Regions from separate parts of the Homo sapiens genome. Here all the other regions are linked to region 1. Evidence: promoter capture Hi-C in 16 types of primary human blood cells and fetal thymus (Javierre and others, 2016). All regions are on one chromosome and are shown on one strand. The core of a region is centred on a gene start or on the middle of the fragment in contact, and the rest is flanking DNA. Distances in the headings are between cores, read along the strand shown. Region 1 holds the start of FGF18 (fibroblast growth factor 18). Region 2 has its middle 16 kb from the start of UBTD2. Region 3 overlaps FBXW11 (F-box and WD repeat domain containing 11). Region 4 holds the start of UBTD2 (ubiquitin domain containing 2). Region 5 overlaps STK10 (serine/threonine kinase 10). Region 6 has its middle 24 kb from the start of FBXW11. Region 7 holds the start of EFCAB9 (EF-hand calcium binding domain 9).

The links. The method cuts DNA at HindIII sites, captures the fragments that hold promoters and counts their contacts. A CHiCAGO score of 5 or more calls a contact.
Region 2: a contact is called between a fragment that was not itself captured here and the fragment with the promoter of FGF18 in region 1, in 8 of 17 cell types (naive CD8 T cells, total CD8 T cells, M2 macrophages and 5 more). The highest score is 8.3, in naive CD8 T cells.
Region 3: a contact is called between a fragment that was not itself captured here and the fragment with the promoter of FGF18 in region 1, in 1 of 17 cell types (megakaryocytes). The highest score is 5.5, in megakaryocytes.
Region 4: a contact is called between the fragment with the promoter of UBTD2 here and the fragment with the promoter of FGF18 in region 1, in 13 of 17 cell types (total CD8 T cells, total B cells, naive CD4 T cells and 10 more). The highest score is 11.2, in total CD8 T cells.
Region 5: a fragment that was not itself captured here is called in contact with the fragment with the promoter of FGF18 in region 1 in 3 of 17 cell types (M0 macrophages, M2 macrophages and M1 macrophages); the score reaches 6.6 in M0 macrophages.
Region 6: a contact is called between a fragment that was not itself captured here and the fragment with the promoter of FGF18 in region 1, in 6 of 17 cell types (M0 macrophages, M2 macrophages, endothelial precursors and 3 more). The highest score is 9.9, in M0 macrophages.
Region 7: the fragment with the promoter of EFCAB9 here is called in contact with the fragment with the promoter of FGF18 in region 1 in 14 of 17 cell types (M1 macrophages, erythroblasts, M2 macrophages and 11 more); the score reaches 11.0 in M1 macrophages.

What each region holds. Positions count from the first base shown.
Region 1 is chr5:171,418,351-171,421,050 of GRCh38, forward strand. FGF18 (fibroblast growth factor 18) reads left to right here and starts at 1,297. Exons shown (of 5, transcript NM_003862.3): 1 at 1,297-1,881; 2 at 2,057-2,093. The coding sequence starts at 1,850. RefSeq lists silencers at 1,134-1,243, 1,364-1,473, 1,614-1,663, 1,724-1,803. The HindIII fragment of the contact is 2,658 bases long and covers 1-2,519 here.
Region 2 is chr5:172,298,867-172,301,566 of GRCh38, forward strand. No RefSeq gene overlaps it. Among named protein-coding and RNA genes, the nearest start is that of UBTD2, 16 kb to the left of the region's middle. The HindIII fragment of the contact is 3,437 bases long and covers 1-2,700 here.
Region 3 is chr5:172,001,360-172,004,059 of GRCh38, forward strand. All of the region lies in intron 1 of FBXW11 (F-box and WD repeat domain containing 11), which reads right to left. Among named protein-coding and RNA genes, the nearest start is that of FBXW11, 3.9 kb to the right of the region's middle. The HindIII fragment of the contact is 5,721 bases long and covers 1-2,700 here.
Region 4 is chr5:172,282,361-172,285,060 of GRCh38, forward strand. UBTD2 (ubiquitin domain containing 2) reads right to left here and starts at 1,404. Exons shown (of 3, transcript NM_152277.3): 1 at 1,236-1,404. The coding sequence starts at 1,305. RefSeq lists a silencer at 997-1,906 and enhancers at 1,481-2,081, 2,082-2,681. The HindIII fragment of the contact is 4,236 bases long and covers 1-2,662 here.
Region 5 is chr5:172,081,637-172,084,336 of GRCh38, forward strand. It overlaps STK10 (serine/threonine kinase 10), which reads right to left. Exons shown (of 19, transcript NM_005990.4): 11 at 1,325-1,448; 12 at 690-869. Among named protein-coding and RNA genes, the nearest start is that of FBXW11, 76 kb to the left of the region's middle. The HindIII fragment of the contact is 924 bases long and covers 973-1,896 here.
Region 6 is chr5:172,029,352-172,032,051 of GRCh38, forward strand. No RefSeq gene overlaps it. Among named protein-coding and RNA genes, the nearest start is that of FBXW11, 24 kb to the left of the region's middle. The HindIII fragment of the contact is 3,212 bases long and covers 1-2,700 here.
Region 7 is chr5:172,192,792-172,195,491 of GRCh38, forward strand. EFCAB9 (EF-hand calcium binding domain 9) reads left to right here and starts at 1,381. Exons shown (of 4, transcript NM_001171183.2): 1 at 1,381-1,517. The coding sequence starts at 1,382. The HindIII fragment of the contact is 7,932 bases long and covers 1-2,700 here.

The DNA.
Region 1 (2,700 bases), core at 47-2,546:
CTGATATTTGGAACAATTACTAATGTTTTATAGTCATGGCTTCAGCAAATAGCACTGTTCGACAGTCCTACCTCAGTTTATGCTCCAGTGGACCATCAACCATTGCCAACGCAAGGAGGCTTTAACCAAATAGTCCAGATTCCTGAGTTTTGCTTGAGCCTGTCCTCCAGCGTCTTTCTCACTGTGACCTATTTTCCTTAGCATCAGGCTCAAGCAGAGCTTGGCTGACACCAGCTCTAGACAGTGAGGCAGGTACGTGACAAGAACACCTACGTTTTGGGGTTGGTGGGAAGGACAGGAGTTATGCCTCTGGAAGGGGCAGAGGCGGTAAGAACCAGTGTCCTGAATGGGGCCCTGGTTAAAGGAACGAAGCTGCCTAGTATGCAAACGGAGGCAAGTCTTAGTCCGGTTTTGGGAGGAGGCCGGAAGAGGGCCTCAGCGTGGTCGCTGACCAGAGTCCTGCTGGCTGCTCCCCGGCGTGCAGCCGTCCGTGCTGGGGTTGCAGTGACGTCTCGGGGCCGCTTGGTGGTAGCCGTGTGTTTCCAAAGCTGGCTCGCCTACGGGAGAGTCCAGCTGGGATCCCGTGAACCGACCCCAGAGCCCCGGAGGGGGCGAGGGGTGGGAAGGAGAGATGCCCGGGAGCCCCCTTCGCAGCGGCAGGGACGTAAGAAGAGGACGGGGGCTCACTTAAGTGGGTAGCCAGTCAAGAGGGTGGCTGGGAAACTCCACGATCGCAGGGCGGGTAAAAGCGACCCCCATTCAGTGGAGCCGCCCCGGGGCTGGGTTTGACCCGCCCCTCTCGGCTCTCCACTAGAGCGCTGGTGAGTGAGTGCGAGTAGCGAATGTGGGCAGGTGAGGACGTTCCGTACCTAACTGCGTTCTTGGGGAGCATCGCCTGCCCAATTTGGGCAACGTTTGCGCGGAGGAGCGGTCACTGCGCTCGGGCGCAGAGCTCCGACGGCTTCCAGCGCTCACCAGCTTCAGTCTCGCGGGTCCTGCCCCTTTGGAGCTGCCGGTCCCGTCTCCGAGAGTCTGAGCGCCTCCCCTCCAACCCCGAGCCGCCAGGAGAAGGAGGAGGAGGCAGCGAGAGGCCGCGGCAGGCAGGCGAGCAGGCAGGGCCGCCTTTGATGTGGGCTGGGCGCACCCAGGCGAGCTGAGCGCCCGTCCGGCCGCGCCCCGAGGGGGGAGCCCCCAGGCCCCGCATCCTCATTGTGCCGGCTCGGGCCCGGGCCCGCCCCCGGCCCCCCGCCCCCTCGCCGCCCGCGCGTAGAAAACGCCCCGGCCGCCGCCAGTGGTGGGAGGCGGCGATGCGCACGGCCGGAGAGACGCGGAGGAGGAGACATGAGCCGGCGGGCGCCCAGACGGAGCGGCCGTGACGCTTTCGCGCTGCAGCCGCGCGCCCCGACCCCGGAGCGCTGACCCCTGGCCCCACGCAGCTCCGCGCCCGGGCCGGAGAGCGCAACTCGGCTTCCAGACCCGCCGCGCATGCTGTCCCCGGACTGAGCCGGGCAGCCAGCCTCCCACGGACGCCCGGACGGCCGGCCGGCCAGCAGTGAGCGAGCTTCCCCGCACCGGCCAGGCGCCTCCTGCACAGCGGCTGCCGCCCCGCAGCCCCTGCGCCAGCCCGGAGGGCGCAGCGCTCGGGAGGAGCCGCGCGGGGCGCTGATGCCGCAGGGCGCGCCGCGGAGCGCCCCGGAGCAGCAGAGTCTGCAGCAGCAGCAGCCGGCGAGGAGGGAGCAGCAGCAGCGGCGGCGGCGGCGGCGGCGGCGGCGGAGGCGCCCGGTCCCGGCCGCGCGGAGCGGACATGTGCAGGCTGGGCTAGGAGCCGCCGCCTCCCTCCCGCCCAGCGATGTATTCAGCGCCCTCCGCCTGCACTTGCCTGTAAGCGCCCGCGCGCGGGGCTGCCCACCTTGCCTGGCTGTCTGTCCGTATGCCTGTGCCCTGTACCTCTGTCTGCCCGCCCGTCGGTTCACCTGACTCTTCGACTGCGTGTCTGTCTGTCCGTGCGCCCCCTTCCTCAGGTCCCACTGACCGCTTCTCCATCTGTTTCCCGCAGGTGTTTACACTTCCTGCTGCTGTGCTTCCAGGTACAGGTACGTGGGCTCCTGACTTTGACCTCCTCCCGCCCCTGCCTCGCGGTACACGCCGACCCCCCTTCCCCGGCCGCGCCCCCTCCCTGTGCCCCACCCCTCCTGGGCGCTGAGCCCAGTGCACCTGTTCCCAGGGCGCGGAAGGGCGGCTCCGCGTGCGCCCTGCGCCGGCGGGGAACCGGCCAAGGGCAAGGGGCTCTGCCGCGGGGCCCGAGGAGGCGCTGGCTGTCGCGGCCACTGTCGGCCTCGGCTGGGAGGAGATCCCGCAGAGCCGGCGGGCTCAGCCGCAACAATATACCCAGCTCTAAGACCCCTGCCCGCAGCCAGCGAGGGGTAGGACCTAGGGATTTTCTCTGCCAACCTTCCCTTAACATCGCCGCTTCCAAACAAAAAGACTTTCAGCCGAGTGGATTTCGAGTCCAGGGAGAAAGCTTCAGTTGTAAATTACTCTGTGGTTTTGAAGGCGCTTGCAGCACTGAGACACACACACAGACACACACACATGCCCGGGACGAGGGGAAGCTCGAGGGCGCCTAGGCCGAGTGGCCGCTGCCCGCGAGGCCGCTCCCGGATGGGCCGCGCTCCGCACTCCCTCGCCTAAGGTGGTGCA
Region 2 (2,700 bases), core at 76-2,575, 880 kb after region 1:
ATACAAAAATTACAGGTGGCAGGCACCGTAATCCCAGCTACTTGGGAGGCTGAGGCAGGAGAATCTCTTGAACCCAGGAGGCAGAGGTTGCAGCAAGCTGAGATTGCACCCTTGCACTCCAGCCTGGGCAACAAGAGTGAAACTCCGTCTCAAAAAAAAAAAAACAAAAACAGGAAACTTTTTGAGATAGGGTCTCACTCTGTCACTCAGGCTGGAGTACAGTGGCATGATCTCAGCTCACTGCAGCTTCAACCTCCTGGGTTCAAGTGATCCTCCCACCTCAGCACCAAGTAGCTAGGACTACAGGCATGTACCACCAGATCCAGCTAATTTTTTTTTTTTTTTTTTTTGGTATTTTTTGTAGAGATAGGGTTTTTCCATGTTGCCCAGGCTGGTCTTGAGCTCCTGGACTCCAGCAATCTGCCTGTCTCAGCCTCCCAAAGTGCTGGAATTACAGGCGTGAGCCACCATGCCTGGCCTAATGATGGAAGATTTAAGGACTCAGGAATTACCAGGCAGCCATCCAGCCTCTTCGTGGGTCCAGGCTTCACATTGGATTTATACCCTCTTAAACACCAATCTTATTTCTTTAATTCAGGAAAGTACCAGAGTAAACAATCATTTGTGAGTTACAAAGATTAACCATTTGTGAATGGTTAAAGATCTGATTAAAGTTAATTACAATGTTAATACAATTCACAACAAAATTTGATTATTTCTCTTGCATGCAACATTTTAAAATAATAACTAAAATTATGAATGATAACATTCTACCAGGACTATTTGATTTCTATAAATATCATATAATTTCTAAAACACACATTAATAACACGTCCATACAAATATAATTCAAAGAAGGTTTACTATTACTTATCATTTGGCAATGCTTCCCATATAATTTAATATATTTAATAGGCTCAATTCATGTGATATCTCTCTTTTTATAAGGAAAGGTATCATTCTGAGATATTCCAAAGGCCCACCTGGAAAAATTCAAAGTTAATTCAAGGTCAAGAAAAAGACTTCATTTAGATTTTGATTTTGGGGGAGTTTGTCAAACATATCAAAGATTTAAAACATTTGATCAAAATAGGTTCACAGGTCACTGTGAACAATAGTCATTCATTTAACCAAAGTGACAATTAAAAGGCTTCAAAGGCAAATACAGAAAGTTACATAGCTGTAAAAAAAAAAAAAAAAACCTCAGCTCAAGTGTATAAAACATTTATACACTTAGCTTGGAGCTAAGGTTTTTTTTGACAACCATGTAACTTTCTGTATTTAGTCAACTTTCTGATCTCTCAGTTTTCTTAAGTGACCGAAAACCCAATAAAGACAACACAAGGCTGGTTGCAGTGACTCATGCCTGTAATCTCAACAGCCTGGGAAGCTGAAGTGGGAGGATCAGTTGAGGCCAGGAGTTCAAGACAAGCCTGGCGAGCATAGTGAGACCCATCTTTACAAAATAAAAAAGTAGCCAGGTGTGGCAGTGAGCACCTGTAGTTCTAACTACTTGGGAAGCTGAGGCATGGGGATGGCTTGAGCCCAGGAGTTCAAGGCTGCAATGAGCTATGATATGCCACTGTACTCCACCCTGGGCAACAGAGTGAGACCCTGTCTCTTAAAAAAAAAAAATTGAAGCACAGGAAAATTTCTTGGTAAGACACAGAATCTTTTTTTCCCCTAGGCCAATTACCTAAAAGGTAAAGAAAAATTGTTAACAATTTTCTGTTAAGATCAGAGGCCAATACTCTAAGAAAACCTTGTTGTTTTAACAGAGAAGGCCAAATTCTAGTTTTGCTATTAATGCTCAGTTTTTTAGGAAAAACATTCTAAATAATTCCCTACATCACACATAAAATTTATATCACAAGATTCATCTTCCACACACCTACAACCTTCTTATCCATTCAGGTTTTGCTCCTATACTTTTTCTCTTCTCATTTGGAACAACTAACCATTCTACTTCAGGAAAAAATTACTCTCTTTTATGCAGCCAAAAGACACATGAAAAAATGCTCATCATCACTGGCCATCAGAGAAATGCAAATCAAAACCACAATAAGATACCATCTCACACCAGTTAGAATGGCAATCATTAAAAAGTCAGGAAACAACAGGTGCTGGAGAGGATATGGAGAAATAGGAACACTTTTACACTGTTGGTGGGACTGTAAACTAGTTCAACCATTGTGGAAGTCAGTGTGGTGATTCCTCAGGGATCTAGAACTAGAAATACTATTTGACCCAGCCATCCCATTACTGGGTATATACCCAAAGGACTATAAATCATGCTGCTATAAAGACACATGCACACGTATGTTTATTGTGGCACTATTCACAGTAGCAAAGACTTGGAACCAACCCAAATGTCCAACAATGATAGACTGGATTAAGAAAATGTGGCACATAAACACCATGGAATACTATGCAGCCATAAAAAAATGATGAGTTCATGTCCTTTGTAGGGACATGGATGAAATTGGAAATCATCATTCTCAGTAAACTATCGCAGGGACAAAAAACCAAACACCGCATGTTCTCACTCATAGATGGGAATTGAACAATGAGAACACATGGACACAGGAAGGGGAACATCACACTCTCAGGCTGGTCTCAAATTCCTGACCTGAAGTGATCTGCCCTCCTCAGACTCGCAAAACGCTGGGATTACAGGTGTGAGCCACCGCGCCTGGCCTC
Region 3 (2,700 bases), core at 74-2,573, 580 kb after region 1:
AGTAATGTGGGTGAAAATGTTTAGAAAAGAGGATAGTTAAGACACAGGCAAAAGGCAATAATGTCTGAAAATGATCACCAGGAAAATTCAACCCAACATTTCCTGAAAGCCTACCACAAAGAAGACACCGTGTGTATGAAGGAACTGTGTGTCACTGGAAGATAATTAAGGTCCCAGCCCTTCCCATGAGGAGTTTATCATTCAACAGAGGACACAAACAGGTAACTATATTACAAGCCTGAAATATGTTAAGTGCTACAGGATAAATACAAAGTGCCAGAATTCATTCATTTCATTTGAGTGTCATATAGGCAGTGCTATACAGACACAAAAACCAGACAGTCTCTGCTACCATAATATAAACTGACATCAAAAGAGGTGGCACCTATTGTGTTTTATGGGTGGATAGGACTTCATTAGCATAAATGAAAGAGAAGATTGCTGAGATATAACCTAAGCCAATTTGGCCAGAGAACCACCTATTAGATCCTTTTGATAAATATCAGTAGCCTTCAATAAATGGGCTTAGGTCCATTCCTATCAGTGCTGACAAAGGAAACGTGTGAGCAGAATCTGGAGGACCATGGTCCTCCATGTGCTAGAATATACAGTAAGCAAGGAAAGTAGGCAGAAAAGCCATAAGGGAGAATGGAATACAAAGGAAGACTGGAATTGGAATCACTAGGACTTAAAATGCTTTGTTTTCTATGAAGAACAAATATCACAAGGTAGAACCCAGGATCCCACAGATCTTACAGGGCAGATAATTTTGTTTCTAGAATTCACAGGCTCAAACAACACTAGTAAGAGGCATATATGTGCTGTTGTGAATCTATGTAATGGCTGAGTGATTCTCCTGGGCTAGCTCCCTATTTGCAGGAGACAGACTATAGCAGTCAAGAGCCCAGAATGCCAAGACTTGTGTGCAGGAACATGTTTATCCATGTCAAATCTGAAAGGATATCTAACCTACTGCAAAATCAGGGGCAAAAATTGATATATTTGAGCCAATGCCTCTTTAGGCAGGTCAGTGAGGTCCATATATTTTATATAAATGTGTGTGTGTGTGTGTGTGTGTGTGTGTGTGGTTTATTCATTTGGACCCTATTGAAACCTGTGTCCACTGAGTCTGCATTCAGTAAGTTAGCACCCCTAGTGGTGTGCTACATGAGGAGAAAGGTGGTGACAAAGTAATATCCAATTTCTTGATGAAGTCACTAAACAACCCCACTCACCCCGAGAAAGTCAATGACAGGAAGAAAAAAAAAAGATCCAAAAAGAAAAAAAGACAACATTTCCAGTAACTTCATTTATTCGTTTCTTTCTTTTTTCTTTTCTTTTTTTTTTTTTTTTTTTTTGAGAGTGTCTTGCTCTGTTACCCAGGCTGGAGTGCAGTGGCACAATCACAGGTCACTGCAACCTCAAACTCCTGGGCTCAAGCAATCCTCCCCACCTCAGGCTCCTGAGTAGCAGGGACTATAGGAGTGAACCACTATGCCTGGCTAATTTTTTTATTTTTTGTAGAGACAGGGTTTTGTTATGTTGCCTAGGCTGGTCTCTAACTCCTGGGCTCAAGCAATCCTCCCACCTCCTAAAGTGCTGGGATTACAGGCTAGAGCCACCGCACCTGCCCACACCTTCTTAATAAGGATCAGTGTATTTTAACCTACATTACTTCATTGAACAAGTAATACAGCCACTTAAGAGATAAGACAGAAGGGAAATGACTCACTTAAGGTCACTTAGCAAAAAGGGAAGTCATTTAACAATTAATTATAAACCATCCATTAATTGTGTAAAGGGAAGAGGGGATTCACTCACACCCGTGGAGGAGGCAGGATCGCCTTTCCTAAAGTGATAGCATCAATTTCTGCTGGCTTCTTACAGGGTAATCTAATCATCTTTCTCTTCCAATCAGAAGCTCTTGTGAGTGCTTTCTAGTGATGAGTGCCTGAAAATCAAGTCATATTCCTAACTCAAAGGTTAATAAATACCACGTGATACATATTGTACAGTTCTCATTCTTCCCAATGAAGTCCATTGAACATAGCCGGATAAACTTTACATATTTCCAAAATGAATTACTAGTTTTCTGCCTCATTCATAAGGCGAATTTTACCAAACTCAGAAGTTTGGAAAAATAGGCCCACTAACAGGTATAGCCCTGGGCCAATATAAGGCCCTAAAAGTCATCTGGCGGTTAAATTATTTACCATTAGTAACTGTAAATTCAGGGTCTAAATTAAGAGCTTATAGACTTTACTAATATTCAAAGCTGAATCCTATAGAGTGGGTCAGGAGGAGAAGCAACCTGGGTGGACCCAGGCCTCAGGCAGCGGTAGGAGTCAAAGTGGGGGTTATATTTTAGAAATTTAACTATTCTGCTATCACCAGCTTTATTTCCTAATATACTTATCAAAAATGCAAGGAAAAACAGAAGAATCAATATTAAGGAAAGTACAGGGATGAAGATTAGAAAATGGAGATAACCAAGAAGTCTGTTTCCTCTTTTTAATACAGCACACTTTGGAACAGCAAATGAAAGTTATCTTGTTAAGCATTAAGTGCCAAACTGGTACAAGCAGCACAATCACAAATATTTGAGTACTGAAGCTGACTCATAAAAATCTAAAAATATTTCATGCTTTAGGCTTTCAAAACACCATCAGTTTAACCCCTTTTCCTCCATCAATCGTATTA
Region 4 (2,700 bases), core at 154-2,653, 860 kb after region 1:
GTTCTCAAGTTATTTACCCAGGATTTAGTCATACAGGATACCCACAGATTTTAATAAAGTGGCATGGCTAACCATCATGGAATTCAGGAAATCCATTAGCCAAAAAACTTAGGTGTACATGGTTTGTGAAGAGAGCTTAAGTGACAGGGCAAGCAACTGGTCTAAATGTTAGTATGCTACGAAAAAGTTGTAAACCCTCCCATACCCAAACAATTTAAAAATTTACAGACATGCACATTTTAAGGCAGCTAACATTAGGTCACAAATCAAACCAACGCTGTCATCTTTGCCTAAAGGCTGTTTATCACTAAAATATTCTACAGAATGGACGTAACCAAAGGTCACTTAAATAAAGATAGAACTAATTTTATTATTATACTGCCATACTACAACTACTACTGATTGAATTAAAATACCTATCCTCAGCACGCTTTTACTATAAAGTAGGAGTGCGTTCCCGTGTTAGAAAACTTTTAAAGTACTGATCTTACTGGGTGGGGTAAGTCAGGGTCCAACTGCACTTGTACTTTTATCCTACATATTTTCCTTCTACGTAAGACAGATGGGAATGTGATTAGCCCACCCCGACAGCACACCGGCCTAACACCCCCAAGCTCTAGCTAGGAGCCACGTTTTACCCGGGAAGACCGTTTCCCCACCCCTCCTTAATACAATGCCTGCGGCCACTGGAGACTCCTCCAGCCGAGCTCCAGAAACTCGCAGGTTTAAATGGCCAATCTGGAACCAACCGGGGCAGCTGTCATCTGAAACTCAGGAAAGCTGAGACCAGCCAACTCCACAGAACAAGGAAGGGTGCGGAAAGATGTGGCGGGGCCCGTCGGAGGGAACGCATCAAGCTCCCTCCCCCCGCCATCAATTCGCTTTTCTGCAACCCCGGCGCCGCCATCCTGATCCTCAATAATTAAACGGCCTGGAGAGGGAGTGAGGTGGCCAGAAGGGCAGCTTCGGGTCCGACTTCCCCGAGCCGAGCGGGGCGGTCGGCGAGGCCAAGGGCTACGTCCCCGGCGCTCAGAGGACTTTTCTTCAGGGCTGGGGCGGGAAGGGGCGACCCCCGCGGCTGGCAGGACAGCCGGAAGCGGAGCGCGGGGAATGACGTGGAAGAGGGGATGACAAAGGGGCGCGGGGGCCCGGCGCGGCCCGCGGGGGTCGGGACAGGTGGCCGGGCCTGGCCGGGAACAATGGGGGGCCGAGGCTGCCCCCTGGCGCTCACCTACCTCCGGTGCCCTCCGAGTTCTCGTTGAGGCTGCCCGAGGAGTCGTGCTGGGCGCCCACACACCCGCCCATGGGGGCCCCCGGCGCCTCGTCCGCCACCTCCGGACGCTCGTCCGGGCCCGCCGCCGCCGCCGCTGCAGCCTCCTCCGGCGCCACCGCCGAGCTCCGGACAGGCGCGCCGCTCCGCTCGCCCGCCGCGGCCCAGCCTCCGCCCCCCTCGCCGCTCCACCCACCGCCTTGGCTCGGCCCCTTCCTCCGCGCCCACTTCTACCTCAACCCCCGGGCCGCCCGCCCGGCAGGCCTGGCCCGCGCGCCGCCCTCGCCTTCGGCTCAGCCCCGCCAGGCCAGGGCTGGCCCATCCCGGGCGGGCCGCAGCGCCCGCCTCGCCCCCTCACAGCCCCGCACACCCGAGTCCAGGCGAGCCCCGCGCCGGCGCCTCGCGTCCGCCAGGACCCATCGGCCCCCGGCCCGCGGCGCCGCCCTCCGCACCCACGGCCTGGGCTCGGCCCGGCCCGCCCGGAATCGCCGGAGAAGGGCGGGGCCACCGGAGGCCGCGCTCTGATTGGCTGCGGGCGGGGCTGCGAGCGGAGCGGGGCGAGGGTGAGGCGGGGGAGGGGACGCAGGGGGCTAGGTGGGGGGAGGACTGCAGGCGGGGGGAGGACTGGAGGCGAGGGGAGGAGGAGAGAGGGAGGACGGGAAGAAGAAAGGAGAGGGAAGAAGGGAGGGAAAGCAGGAAAAAGCCGAACAAAAGTGAGAAAAGAGGAGTGGGAAGGGGCGAAATCGAGTTCCTGGCTCCTCGGCCGTCGGCTCCTTCTTGCTGGTGGAAGCGGGTCGCACGGGGGAACCGAGAAGTAGTCGTGGAAGACTCGCAGGCGGGGACGGGGCGGTTTCCCAAATAACGGGGGCTCGGGGGAGAGTGTCCTGGCCGAACGTTGAGGTCCCAGCGCCCTTTGAATTTGTATGGCGCTCCGTGGGTTGGTACCCCGAATCTGGGCTTCCTCTTGCCTGCCCACCCCCGTCTTCCCTAAAATCATGGGGCCCCATTATTAGGGGTGGAGGCAGTGGTTGTGGCAAACCAAACTGAGATTAGAGGCGAGGCGTCCTGATGGAACGCCTGGAAAGAAGAGATAAACGCTGACCTTAGTTCAGGGGGCGTGGGTTTCTTTCATTTTCACGGGATTAATGATTCAAACAATACTACTTATCAAGATCCTGCCTTTGGGTATCTTAAATCGTCCTTAGGCCAAAGTGAAGTGTAAATGAGTGAAACACCCTGCCTTTTCGAATCTAGAATTTGGGACATTGACCACGCCCAACATTCTTGGCGGTTACTTTTCCAATCTCAGCCAAATTGTTAATGGTCCCTTTAGAATTGTGCTTCGTGCTATGATGCCTTAAAATTGTTATCATCCTGCTTGGGACTTTCTAAAGCTTATTTCTGCCTAAGAAGCTGTTTTAACTATCTGC
Region 5 (2,700 bases), core at 185-2,684, 660 kb after region 1:
CCACCATGGTAAAGTCTGGAATCTGGGCTCTGAGGTCCTCTGAGGACCACCCTCAGAGGCTGCTCATCCACTGCTACCAGTTGGGAGACTGGGAACAGCCTGGACTGGCGTTCCTGCCCTGGGGGCTTCCAGCCTGCTTGTCTCCTTCCTCCACAGAGGGAGGCATGGGCTGTTCTTTGACACTCAGATGCCTCTCTCCAGAGCAGCTCGAGAGATGTGCCTCAGGACCACATACCTCCTTCCATCCTCCCCTTCCCCTTCCAACATGGGGAGGAGGAGGAGGCAGAGAGGGTGGAGCATAGAGGGCATGTTGTATGTGCCTACCCACCCAGCACCCACTCGCCCTTCTGGGAACAGCATCTCAAATTCCCCCGGACCACCAGCCCTTCCTTCTTCCCCGCTCTTTCTCGGCAGGGGTTGCTAAGCTGGGAGGATGTAAAGGAAGCTGCCTGAGGCCACAGGGTGAGGCCTGCCCTGAGCCATAGCAACACAGAGGAAAGCAGAGTTCAGAAGATGGAGAAGTGGCTCCTCATGGCGCAGCTTGGGCACACAGATCCAGGCTCACCTGCTCCCGAGCTCTTCAGCCGTACCCCTCTGCTGCCAAGGTGAGGTTGAGGCCACGATCACTTGCAACCAAGAAGGCCCCTAATACTCCGAGATGCCCCTGCCCCCACTGAGCACATACTCACCTCTTTCTTCATCAGTTTGAGCTGCTCTTGGAACCTGGTGTAGTCCCGATCCTGCTCCAGGCGGATCCGCCTGGCCTCCTCCCGGCGGCGCACGGCATGGTCTTGCTCCATCTTCTCCACTTGCTGCTTTTGCTGACGCTCCAGGTTCTCTAATTCCGTGTCAAAGAACTTCTTCTTGGCCTGAAAGGAGCAGAAATTCTGAGAAACTTAGCGAAGTCACTTTATACCTGGGAGGGACATGGGAAGTGGAATGGGGAGAACTCAGAGCTTGTGATCAGACCTAAGCTTGAATCCCAGCTCTACTACCCCGTTGCTGTGTGACCTGGGGCAAGTTACTTAGCCTGAGTCTCCATTTCCTCATCTGCAAAAGGGAGACCAGACCATGTGTTGTTGCACGGTGCTCAATACAGGTTATTTCCCCTCTGGAGATCCTCCTGTGGGACTCAGGATCGCTGTGACCTTCACGGGGTTCTGTGTTAACAAGTCACTGCCTAACAAGATCGGGAAGCCCCCAGGAATTGGGCAATTGTTGTGAATTACTCTCCACTACCCAATCATTCCCACTATGTAGCTTCCACTGAGAGAACACCTGGAGGCAAGAAGCCCTGCAGGGTCCCATCTTTTCTCGCACTCACGTTGATTTCCTGTTCAAAACGTTTATGCATTTGCTCCAGCTGCAGCTCATGCTTGTTACTCAGCTGGGTCTGGTTCCGATGCTCTTCTTTCTGGAGCAGCCGAAGCTCTCGGAGTTCCTGGCGCCTGAAAGGTTAAAGGATACAGATATTTCACAGTAAGAAACTGGCTTCAGAGATCACAATATTTGCAACTTGGAACACTGAAGGTTGGATCATGGAGCAAAATCACACAAGTCTGGGGCACAGGCATGACTAGAACTCAGGCTTCATTTGATATTTATTGACAGACAAAACCTTAATAATCTTAATAAATAAAGAGTGCTTACAAATCAATAAAAAGGAAGATTATCCTAACCAAAAAAAGTGGCAAAGAACATGAACAGACATGAAGCAAAAGATAAAAAGAAATTTTAGAATCACCTATATAGATATAAAATACAAATGAAAAAGAAACTATAATTTCTTGATGTAGAAAACATAATGCAGAAAATTTGATGTAGAAACTACATTTTCATGATGTAGAAAATTTGATGGTAGAAACTGGTACATTTCTGGAGGACAATTTGGTAATAAGCTTATGTTTTTTGACATAGTAGTTTCCACTTCTGGATACTGATTTTAAAGAAATATTTATAGATGCACAAAACCACTGAATAAGAATATTCAGCTGGGTGTGGTGGCTCACACCTGTAATTCCAGCACTTTGGGAGGCCAAAGCAGAAGAATCACCTGAGGTCAGGAGTTTGAGACCAGCCTGGCCAACATGGCAAAACCCCATCTCTACTAAAAATACAAAAATTAGCTGGACATGGTGGCACACGCCTGTACTCCCAGCTACTCAGGAGGCTGAGGCAGGAGAATCGCTTGAACCTGGGAGGTGGAGGTTCCAGTGGGCCGAGATGACGCCATTGCACTCCAGCCTGGACTACAAGAGCGAAACTCCGTCTCAACAACACAAAAAAAAGAAAAAAAAAAAAAAAAAGAATAATCAGTCATTTAAAATGAATGTTATTTAGTAAAAAATTGGAAGCAAATGTCCATCAATATAGGTCTATGTAAATAAAGTATATTGATATGATGGAATTCTATACAACCTTAAAAAAATCAAGTTTTAGAAAATGTTTAATTACATAAGGAAACATATTAAAAATAATAATTCAGCTGGGCACAGTGGCTCATACCTGTAATCCCAGCACTTTGGGAGGCCGAGGAGGGTGGATCACCTGAGGTCGGGGGTTCAAGACCAGCCTGACCAACATGGAGAACCCCATCTCTACTAAAAATACAAAATTAGCTGGGTGTGGTGGTGCATGCCTGTAATCCCAGCTACTTAAGAGGCTGAGGCAAGAGAATCGCTTGAATCCGGGAGGCGGAGG
Region 6 (2,700 bases), core at 81-2,580, 610 kb after region 1:
GATGGGGGTCCCCCCATGTTGCCTAGGCTGGTCTTGAAGTCCTGAGCTCAAGCGATCCTCCTACCTCAGCCTCCCAAAGTGCTGGCGTGAGCAACCACACCCAACTGTTAGGCACTTCAAAACTACACTGGTCAGCTGGGCATGGTGGTTCCCACATTTTGAGAGGCTGAGGCGGGTGGATCACTTGAGGCCAGGAGTTCAAGACCAGCCTGGCCAACATCGCAAAACCCTGTCTCTACTAAAAATACAAAAATTAGCCAGGTGTGTGGTGCATGCCTGTAATCCCAGCTACTCAGGAGGCCAAGATGGGAGGATCACTTGAGCCTGAGAGGCAGAGGTTGTAGTGAGCCAAGACTGCTCCATTGCACTCCAGCCTCAGTGACACAGCAAGACTCTGTCTCAAAAAAAAAAAAAAAAAAAAAAAAAAAAAAAAAAAAAACAGAACAAAACAAAATTTAAAAAACCTACACTGATATAGCAAGGTTTTTATCTCCCTACCTCTGGAGCACATAATCTTATTGGGACATCTGCAGTAATTGCCACCTCTTGTGCAGCAGGTCCAGTTAATGTAATGTATCAATATAGTGAACCAATGTAATGTTACATTGAGGGTCCAGGAAATCAAGTCTTATTTGAACTATATTTTGACAGAGAACAGGAGAGTTAACAGGACAGTCCTGAAGCAAGATGTAAATGTATACTGTTGTCCATCCCAGGTAAATGCAAACTGTTTCTGACCTTCCTTTCTGGTGGATATTGTAAGGTGCACATTTATTAGATCAATAGACACATAATGTGTAAGAGAGGTTATTTGCTTCATTCTAGTACAGGTTGAACATTACAAATTGAAAAATATAAAATTCAAAACACTCCAAAATCTGAAACTGCACTGCTATAACACTCAAAGGGAATGCTCATTGGTGCAATTCAGATTTTGGATTTTTGGATTTGTGATGCTCAAATGGTAAGCATAATGCAAATATTCCAAAACCCCAAATAATAAAAACTACAAAACACTTCTATTCCCTGGCATTTTGGATAAGCAATAACCAACCTGTATAGATAGCATACCCAGCACAGCAATTACAGTGTGGCTACCACTTAGTTAAGTTTGCAATGTAGTTTACTGTCATCTGCCATGATCTAGCTGATTTTGCAGGGTCTAGAGTGGGAGATTAAAATGGAATATAATGAGTACTACCACCCTCGCTTCCTTTCAGTCTTTTAGGTTTAGCATACCATTCTACCCAAGAGACAGTGTTGTTTGTGATTTACTATCTTAGCCAGATTTATGGATAATGGAGTGGGGTAGGGAAGAGTAATTCAGGGGCTTTCACTTGGCCTTTCTTACTACAATAGTCTTTATTCCATAGGGTTATGGAACTAATGCAAAGTTCTCCTAGATGCTAGGTATATACAACCTGATTATACATTTGGGTACCAAGTGTGAGAATGAGTCCATTCTCACACTGCTCTAAAGAACTGCCCAAGACTGGGTAAGTTCTAAAGGAAAGAGGTTTAATTGACTCACAGTTCTGCAGGGCTGGGGAAGCCTTAAGAAACTTACAATCATGGCAGAAGTGGAAGCAAACACATCCTCCTTCACATGGCAGCAGGAAGTAGAAGTGCCAAGCAAAGGGAGCAAAGCCCCTTATAAAACCACTGGATCTCATGAGAACTCACTATCATGAGAACAGCATGAGAGTAATCACCCCCATGATTCAATTACCTCCCACCAGGTCCCTCCCACAACACGTGGGGATTATGGGAACCACAATTCAAGATGAGATTTGGGTGGAGACACAGCCAAACCATATCATTCCACCCCGGTCCCTCCCAAATCTCACGTCCTCACATTTCCAAACACAGTCATGCCTTTTCAACAGTCCTCCAAAATCTTATCTCATTCCAGCATTAACTGAAAAGTCCAAGTCCAAAGTCTCATCTGAGACAAGTCAAGCCCTTCCACCTATGAGCCTATAAAATGGAAAGAAAGTTGGTACAGGGGATATAGGCATTGGGTAAATACATCCATTCCAAATGGGAGAAATTGGCCAAAACAAAGGGGCTACAGGCCCCATACGAGTCTAAAATCCAATTGGGCAGTCATTAAATCTTAAAGTTCCAAGATCATCTCCTTTAACTCCATGTCTCACATCCAAGTCATGCTGATGCAAGAGGTGGGCTCCCACAGCCTTGGGCAGCTCTGCCCCTGTGGCTTTGCAGGGTACAGCCCCCCTCCTGGCTGCTTTCATGAGCTGGCATTGAGTGTCTGCAGCTTTTCCAGGCACATGGTGCAAGCTGTCAGTGGATCTACCATTCTGGGGTCTGGAGGACGGTGGCCCTCTTCTCACAGCTCCACTAGCAGTGCCCCAGTGGAGATTCTGTTTGGGGACTCTGACTCCACATTTCCCTTCTGCAATGCCCCAGCAGAGGTTCTCCATGAGGGCTCTACCCCTGTAGTAAACTTCTGCCTGGACATCCAGGCATTTCCATAAATCCTTTGAAATCTAGGCAGAGGTTTCCAAACCTCAATTCCTGACTTCTATGCACCCATGGGCCAACACCACATGTAAGCCACCAAGGACTGGAACTTGAACCCTCTGAAGTAATGGCCTGAGCTGTACATTGGCCCCTTTTAGCCACAACTGAAGCCAAAGCAGCTTGGGACACAGGGCACCATGTCCCAAGGCTGCACAG
Region 7 (2,700 bases), core at 131-2,630, 770 kb after region 1:
ATACCCGTACTCCCAGCACTTTGTGAGGCCAAGGCGGGTGGATCACTTGAGGGCAGGCATCAAGACCACCCTGGCCAACATGGTTAAACCTCATCTCTACTAAAAATACAAAAATTGGGCTGGGTGCAGTGGCTCACGCCTGTAATCTCAGCACTTTGGGAGGCCGAGGCAGGCGGATCACAAGGTCAGGAGATGAAGACCATCTTGGCTAACACGGTGAAACCCGTGTCTACTAAAAATACAAAAATTAGCCGGGAGTGGCGGAGTGTGCCTGTAGTCCCAGCTGCTGGGGAGGCTGAGGCAGGAGAATGGTGTGAACCTGGGAGGTGGAGCTTGCAGTGAGCCGAGATCGCGCCACTGCACTCCAGCCTGGGAGACAGAGCGAGACTCCATCTCAAAAAATAATAATAATAAAAATAAAATAAAATAAAAAATAAAAAATAAAAACAAAAATTTAGCTGGGCGTGGGGGTGCATGCCTGTAATTCCAGATACTCGGGAGGCTGAGGCAGGAGATTCGCTTGAATCCAGAAGACAGAGGTTGCCGTGAGTCAAGACTGTGCCATTATAGTCCAGCCTGGATGATAAGAGTGAAACTCTGTCTCAAAAAAAGAAAAAAAAGAGGCAGGGCTCAATGGTTCAGACCTGTAATCCCAGCACTTTGGGAGGCCAAGACGGGCGGATCACAAGGTCAGGAGATGAAGACCATCCTGGCTAACGTGGTGAAACCCCGTCTTTACTAAAAATACACAAAATTAGCCGGGCGTGTTGGTGGGCGCCTGTCGCCTGTAGTCCCAGATACTCAGGAGGCTGAGGCAGGAGAATGGCGTGAACCCGGGAGGCGGAGCTTGCAGTGAGCAGAGCTCGCGCCACTGCACTCCAGCCTGGGTGACAAGGCAAGACTCTTGTCTCAATTAAAAAAAAGAAAAGAAAAAAGAAAAACTTCCTCTCTTTGGCATTATTATACTGTAGTTATTCTAGGCTCTTTTAGTACTTTTCCATGTGTTTTTCAATTTTTCTTCTTTCTAATAAATGATTTAGGCTATAAATGCTCTGAAAACCACTTGGGCTGTGTAGCAGTTTTCCTATGTAGCACATTCTCTCATTCATTTCTGAACAGCCTGTGGATCTCCTTTAGAACTGATTGTATTTTAGTGACATAAGGATAATCACGTTACCAAGAGGTTTCGGACAGCAGATATCTATCTATAGCATAGCTGGAAAAATTAAGAAGCAGCAATTTTAATTTTTGACTGTTTCCTCTGACGTGTTTACCTTCACTGCTGCCAGATCTCAGACACTATATCCAACATTCTACTTCTGAGGCAGGGTTCTGTATTCTATTTCTGGTTGCCAGAGCCTTCAGTTGACACAGTACTAAGATGAGACTGAAGCAAGGATCGTTTCTGTGGTACCTCTATCTGGACAAAATATACTGCTTATTATCCGTGAGAAACGTGAAGGCTTTGGCAGAATATTTTCATATTCTGGACGTGCACGGCAAGAACACCTTGAATGGTCAGTACTTTCAGACATGTCTCCTCTGGGTCCTTACCTGGGTTTTAGCTAATGTGTAAGAAAACTTGCAGAGCCAGAAACTATTTTGTTAGTACATTTTTTTTTTTTTGAGACGGAATCTCGCTCTATTGCCCAGGCTGGAGTACGATGGCGCGATCTCAGCTCACTGCAATCTCCGCCTCCAGGGTTCAAGCAATTCTCCTGCCTCAGCCTCCTGAGTAGCTGGGATTACAGGTGTCTGCCACCACGCCTGGCTAATTTTTTGTATTTTCGGTAGAGATGACCAGACCATGTTGGCCAGGCTGGTCTCAAACTCCTGACATCAGGTGATCCACCCGCCTCCGCCTCCCTAAGTACTGGGATTACAAGTGTGAGCTACCACACCCGGCCTGTTAGTAAATATTTTATCTTCTAGTTGAAGCACAGAGAGAAGTTGCCAACTCAGAATTGACACGGGGGACAGTTCAGCCGGGAGGAGAAAATTGCAGACTCTGGTGGAATCCTGGCTCCACACCCATTATTCCTTGGTGATGTGGATAACACGTCATCGCCCTCTCTAAGTCTCATTTTCCTCATCTAGAGGTGAGGCTTCTCATAATGGAGTCCATCTCATAGTTGGAAAAAAAAAAGATAATGAGAGTATGGCAAATGCTTAGCACAGTGTCTGACACATCGTAAGGACTTAATAAGTGTTTGTTATTATTGTAATTATTATTCTTGGGAGCTGAGCCCCACTCAGGCATTAACTCTGGAGACCCCTCAGCAAGATTTATCTGTCATGTGGGAAGTTTGAATCTGATGAGCTGCAGGATCCCTTCTACTTATTGGTACTTGTGAATGACCAAAAATAAATAAATAAATAAATAAATAAATAAAAATAAATAAATAAATAAATAAATATAAAAGCTGCAGATCTCAGCCATGCTTGTTGAGTTCACAAACTAATAGAAGTCCAATTAAACACTTGAGGTTATTTTTAGGACTGAGTAGAAATAAGGTATCCTATCCATTCACTCGTTCTGACCTCAGAGAGAGAAATGTCATCCGTGAGTAAGGGGTTCCTCCGTCATGATTTTAAGGAGTTCATTCAATTTTTAAAAACAATTAAAAAAGAACACCTTCTTTCTCTCTTTACATAGAGATTTATGTACAGTGCATTGCCAAATCTTCGCAATAACCCTGC